Regions from separate parts of the Homo sapiens genome. Here region 2 is linked to region 1. Evidence: promoter capture Hi-C in 16 types of primary human blood cells and fetal thymus (Javierre and others, 2016). All regions are on one chromosome and are shown on one strand. The core of a region is centred on a gene start or on the middle of the fragment in contact, and the rest is flanking DNA. Distances in the headings are between cores, read along the strand shown. Region 1 holds the start of CDKL2 (cyclin dependent kinase like 2). Region 2 overlaps CCNI (cyclin I).

Region 1 (2,969 bases), core at 233-2,732:
CACTTCCATTAACTATTTTTTAATAAACTGTTTGTATTTGAAAAAAAAAATCTCCATATAATTCTATCCCTTCTTAATTTTTTTCTCTTCCATTAAGAGAGTATGTTTTATTAAGCACTAGGCTTTAGGTTTATCATACCAATGACAAAAATAGCTTGAATCTATAACCTGGATTATTTTAAAACATTTTGTAATTGATGTCCTCAATATTTGAAAGCACAAAGTGAACCAAAAAAAATGACTTTAAGCATGTCTGAGGTGTTCTGAAGCATATCCCAAGCTAACATTAATGCAAGTTGACTGCTTCAAGTTTATTCTCCCAACCAATTGCATATCTGGACACACCACATTGAACACACCTGCTTTTTCAAGTGACACTGTCCACAAATACTTTAAAAGTATCACAGCCTACAAAGCCTCCTGTTTCCTGAAACAGTTACTCATAAACTATAACTTCTCATGCCTTCTACTCTTGAACGGAAAGGTAATACAAACGAAAAAGAAACCTGGCCAATGGGCAAGGTGTTATTTCTGGATGGTTCTAAAAGCAACAATTTTGATAAAAATATTTGGAGAATGCTAATTTTTTATTTTGTTTAAGACAGATTAAAGGGCCGGGAGCGGTGGCTCACGCCTGTAATCCCAACACTTTGGGAGGCCGAGGCGGGCGGATCACCTGAGGTTGCGAGTTCGAGACCAGCCTAACCAACATGGAGAAACCCTGTCTCTACTAAAAATACAAACTTAGCCGGGCGTGGTGGTGATGCCTGTAATCCCAGCTACTTGGGAGGCTGAGGCAGGATAATCGCTTGAACCCAGGAGGCAGAGGTTGCGGTGAGCCGAGACCATGCCATTGCACTCCAGCCTGGGCAACAAGAGTGAAACTCCGTCTCAAAAAAAAAAAAAAAAAAAAAAAAAAAAAAAAAAAAAAAAGATTGAAATCTTTTATAGATCAAAGAACGAGATAATAGAAGCTTTAAAACGTACTATACTTACCGTTTCTTCAATCCGTTCGCATAGAAAGACCCAAAGGTTTTCAACTTGGAAACAAATTTGAGGTGAAATGCATATGGTTCGCAGGTCCAAAAGATGCTGCCTAGCAAACTAGCAATTCCAGCGCTGTTGTGATTTCTTCTGCGGACGCAGTCACGAGTCCAGGGCGAAGCAGGCAGGGAGGCAGGTGGGCCTCGGTCCGCCGCAAGCTCACACTTAGGAGGACCACGGGCCGCATGCTGTCGTCGTCAAGGCAACGACCTCACTCTGTCCCCAACCATAGGCACAAAGTCTTGGGAGACAGATACGGCCCAGGTCAGAATGCGTTCACGGCAGGCACCAACACCTGTGAAGGCCAAGGGCTAGAGAGCAATTAGCTGGGTGAGAGGCACCACCTCCCAGCTCGTAAGGCGCCCAGTACCTGGAGCCTGGGAACCTGCACCGCTCCAACTACCCCTGGGCGAAGGCGTTGGCCGCGGAGCTGCAAGGGGGGGCGGTTTCTCACCCGCCCCGAGAGCGCCAGGCCTCCCTTCTTCTGATTGGCCGAGCCGAGTCGTCACGAGCCATGATTGGCTCAGGGCCAACCACCCCGCCCCTTCACCTAGGGCTCGGCCCAGGTTCTGCTCCCTGACACGCAGAGGCCCTGCGTCCCCACACGCCTTGGTTCTCGTCAGGAGGCGCCTTTCTGCCTTCCCCAGCGGGAGGAGGCGATTGTGATGCCCACGCGAAGGGTAAAGGTGGCGGTTATGTAGGACTGCGAAGACTATGCAAAATGCGATACGGTTTCCCTCATAGCATCGCCGCTGGGGCAGGGGCGGGCGCCGGGCGCCCTGAGTCGCGTAGGCGCGGCCTGACCGGGATTCCATGCTTCCTTTCTGTTCTGGGCGGTGGGGCCAGTGTGAGCCAGGTAGGAGATAACGGTGACAGTTTAGGAGGTGATGATTAGTAGGCGAGGCAAGGTGGAAGAAGGTAGGTGATGACAGACCTGACGTTAGGAGGGACCTTGGGAAGGCCAGTCTGGCCATTGAAAGTGAGGGAAAACACTGAGATGGAGGAAGGGGAAGAGAGGGCATGAGTGGAATGGGAAAGCGCTGGGATGGCTGGGGATCTGGAGGACACGCACAACACCCGCGTATGGCAGCCAAATGGGGTGGAGTTAGGGCTTGCGATAAAACTTGCCTTAAATGCAAAAATGCAGCTCAATCCACGACTGAGCAAGACTGGTAGGTCAGAATCATGCACAGGCTTAAATCACACAGGAACAGAGCTTACCCCATTTTCAAAGAATCTGAGGCAGCGAGGAGGCCATAAGGCCAGTAAAATAACACTTTCAATCATGATAACTAAATGTTCATGATCATTTTGGTCTCGAAACTACTTTGATTTAGGGAATAGAGTGTCCTGGATAGACAAATGTCTACCATATACCCTAGTCAATATTAAGGTATTAATCATTAATGTTAAGGTATTGATTCCTTCTTGTACATTAAGAAATAGACATTCTTTTTATAGTCTTTTGTGAGTTTGGTTAGTTTGCATTAATCTCCCAGTGGTTAATTACCTTGGTCAGACTGCTTAAAATCTAGTTCCTGAACCTGTAATATTGAGAACCAGACCTGAGGCCTAGTTATGGAAAGAATAGAATTATTTGGTCAATTCAAGATGTGACTCTTAGTGTAGCAATTAGCTCTGTCCTTAGCTGTGTCCAAGTTGCGAGAAGCCCTGTCCCATTTGGTACCTCTATAGGCTATAAGAGAATCTGATGAACTTCTTTTATATGGGGGTAGATTCAGTTTTGTTGGGCCTGAAGCTTAAGAACAAGAGCGCAAAACTATTTTACTTTTGCAACTTTATAATCATATTCAACCGTATAACATTTTAAGGCCCCTTCATGCAAGAGGCCTAGAAGCTTCAATAATCTATTTATATCTCACAGGGAACCAAAGGATAAAGACTGAAAATACTGGATTTGGCGA
Region 2 (2,969 bases), core at 1-2,500, 1.4 Mb after region 1:
TGAGAGCTAACTGTTAGCATTACAATCCTAGCCATATGATATTCTACAAAAATAATATCAATTCCATTGCTCAAAGTTCAACCAAAGCCAATTAACCAAAGTTCATTTCTATCCAGCAGAAAAAAAGCTTGATTTAGAAGTTTTTAATAAATAATATTCCCAAAATTAAAAAATTTTTTGTGTATGTAAACATTTTTTAAAGCTAATTGCTTGCAATCTGGGATATCTGAAAAATGCCTACTTTTATCTCAGCAACAAGTCCACATCACTCCTCCCTCCCTCTCTACTACATCTAACCTACTTTTCACAGATAATTCCACAGAAAGATGAGTTTAAAGTTAGTGTCCTTTCTTGGACAGTACATTTTTCAAAAATTATTAGTGAACACATTGTTGTAGTTTCTATCATGAGTTTCTTGCTGTGTTTATTAAACATTTGAAACAAAGTTGGAGAAATTTGTGGAACAATTAGAGAATTTTGCCAAATATCTCATTTTTTCATATTTCTTATTTATTGGGTCCTGTCATGTTTAGTAAGTGTCTTAAGAGTAGAAGTTTGAGCAGCTATTCAGTCTTACACTCCGTAATTATTTGGCTTCTATTCTGTATACCTAATAAAGCATTTAATTGACAGTTCCCCCAGTTTACATATTCTTTTGCATACTAATGCCTACAAGTTTAAATACTATGCTACTTTTTCATGCCTTGCCATTAAATAAATGCTCATTTTCTGCTTTAAATATGTTGAGGGCCTATTTACTAACTTGACACAGCCAATGACATGGCAATGGGGACAATATAAAACCTAATTATTTGTATGCTGTCATTCAACAAAAATATACCAAAGTTGCTTTATGACATCTTGTTATATACCAAAGTAAGCCCGTAGAAAGCACTTTGTTTTTCAGAAAGCCACACAGTATGGATATTCAATAAGTAGTGACAGAGAAAAACGTGCAATAGGCTTATACTTTATTCTAGTCTGATTCCTTGTCCACCTCTGTACACCAATATGTTAGAAAATGACTAAGTATTCTGCTGATGCTATACGGTTTGTGCTAAAATCAAGAGATAAAAAATTTCATAGGCTAAAAAGTTATGAATACTTGTAACAAAAAGAAAATTACAGAATACTATTAGAAACACTTCCAAAAACACTTCTGCTTTTTAAACAATAGTAGAAAGCCGGGAGTGGTGGCTCATGCCTGTAATCCCAGCACTTTGGGAGGCCAAGGCAGGCTGATGACTTGACGTCGGGAGTTCAAGACCAGCCTGGCCAACACGGCAAAACCCTGTCTCTACTAAAAATACAAAAATTAGACTGGCATGGTGGCACGTGTCTGCAGTCCCAACTACTTGGGAGGCTGAGGCACAAAAATTGCTTGAACCCAGGAGGCAGACACACTCCAGCCAGGGCAACAGAGCAAAACTATCAAAAAATAAAAATAAAATAAACAATAGCAGAAGACATCACCATGTCTTCTTATGGGTACATACATCATTCTCCAGCAAAGTTCTCCACTTCTTTCTACCTTACAGAATGTTCACTAATAGCCTCTAGTTTAGCATACATACACTCAAATGAGGTTATATGTAAGTCTATCTTAAAACACTTACCTTTACGGTAGCTAAAAACCTATCCAAAAGACTGCTAGCCAGAGCAAATGTTTCTGGGTAAAGGTTGAATTGGTACTTGAGTTTGGCCAGCCATTGAATTACTTCATCTCTCTGGGATGGAGAAACATTCTATAAGGGAACAATTTTGAAAACAGAAGACAAAGTTTGAGCTATCATCAAGAGTATGTTTAGAATTCTCTCTCATAAAAGGTTAGGTAATACTACAAAATATATTTAAAAATGTTAAGGTTATTCAAAATCTATCAGACTTGAGACACATGAAATAAAACTTTATGTATTATCACATTTAATATCAATATCCAATATTCTCCTACTCTTTATTAAAATTTTCACTATGTCATCTCACCAAATATCCATAGTTGAATTAAATTTAGGTGCTCAGAGAATATAACATTTTAAAGTTTAAGTAACACTATTATCAACTGATAGTAATTTGGAGTTAAGTTACCCCACCTCTTAAGATTAAGAAAATACAGTGAATTTCTCCCGCAGCAAGTAGCCATTAACTTATCTTAGGAAATATAAATGAACTATGATAATGGAAATGATAGCCCATTTGAAAAACTAAAATCAATAGTAATAAGTAAAAGATACCAGGGACAACAGATGAATTATACACTTAGAGATGATGAAAAAATATTGAACAGGAAATTAATCTGAAGTAAATTACTATTTTGAAAAATTTCCACAAACACAAAACATTATTGTTTTATTGTTGTTGTAAGCCTATTGAGTATAAGCTTAATTTTTAGCAGGGACACACTTTAAAGTAATAGTGATTAGAAAACTTTTACTCTTGAGTTTTGGAGTCGCCATTAAAAAAATAAAACCGGTTGTTTATTTTGGGAACATTCAGTATTCTCCTTACAGCTCTTTCAAACTGTAGTTTCAAACAGTTTGAAAGAGCTGTAAGGAGAATACTCAAATAATATGTAGGAAGATTAAAACAACAATGTTTTGTGTTTGTGGAAAGCTTTCAAAATAGTCATTTACTTCAGGTTGATTTCCTGTTCAATATTTTTTTTCATCATCTCTAAATGTATAATTCATCTGTTGCCCCTGGTAACTTTCACTTATTAATATTGATTTCAGTTTTTTAAATGGGCTATCATTCTGTTATCATAGTTCATTTGTATTTCCTAAGTTAACCATAGTAAGCCTACAATGGTATGGAACACTAGAAGTTATTCCTCATATCTAGCTGTAATTCTGTATCCAGGCTACTTTAAGATCTAGTTCTGGACTAAGGATCCATAAAAATCCCTGAGAACCAAGTAAAGCCAATCACAAGACTTCTGGATGAAGAGTTAAGCATTCAAGAGAAATTAAATT

The links. The method cuts DNA at HindIII sites, captures the fragments that hold promoters and counts their contacts. A CHiCAGO score of 5 or more calls a contact.
Region 2: a contact is called between a fragment that was not itself captured here and the fragment with the promoter of CDKL2 in region 1, in 1 of 17 cell types (total CD8 T cells). The highest score is 5.7, in total CD8 T cells.

What each region holds. Positions count from the first base shown.
Region 1 is chr4:75,629,046-75,632,014 of GRCh38, forward strand. CDKL2 (cyclin dependent kinase like 2) reads right to left here and starts at 1,483. Exons shown (of 14, transcript NM_001330724.2): 1 at 997-1,483. The HindIII fragment of the contact is 1,829 bases long and covers 973-2,801 here.
Region 2 is chr4:77,056,891-77,059,859 of GRCh38, forward strand. CCNI (cyclin I) reads right to left here. Exons shown (of 7, transcript NM_006835.3): 3 at 1,617-1,745. Among named protein-coding and RNA genes, the nearest start is that of CCNI, 18 kb to the right of the region's middle. The HindIII fragment of the contact is 2,250 bases long and covers 126-2,375 here.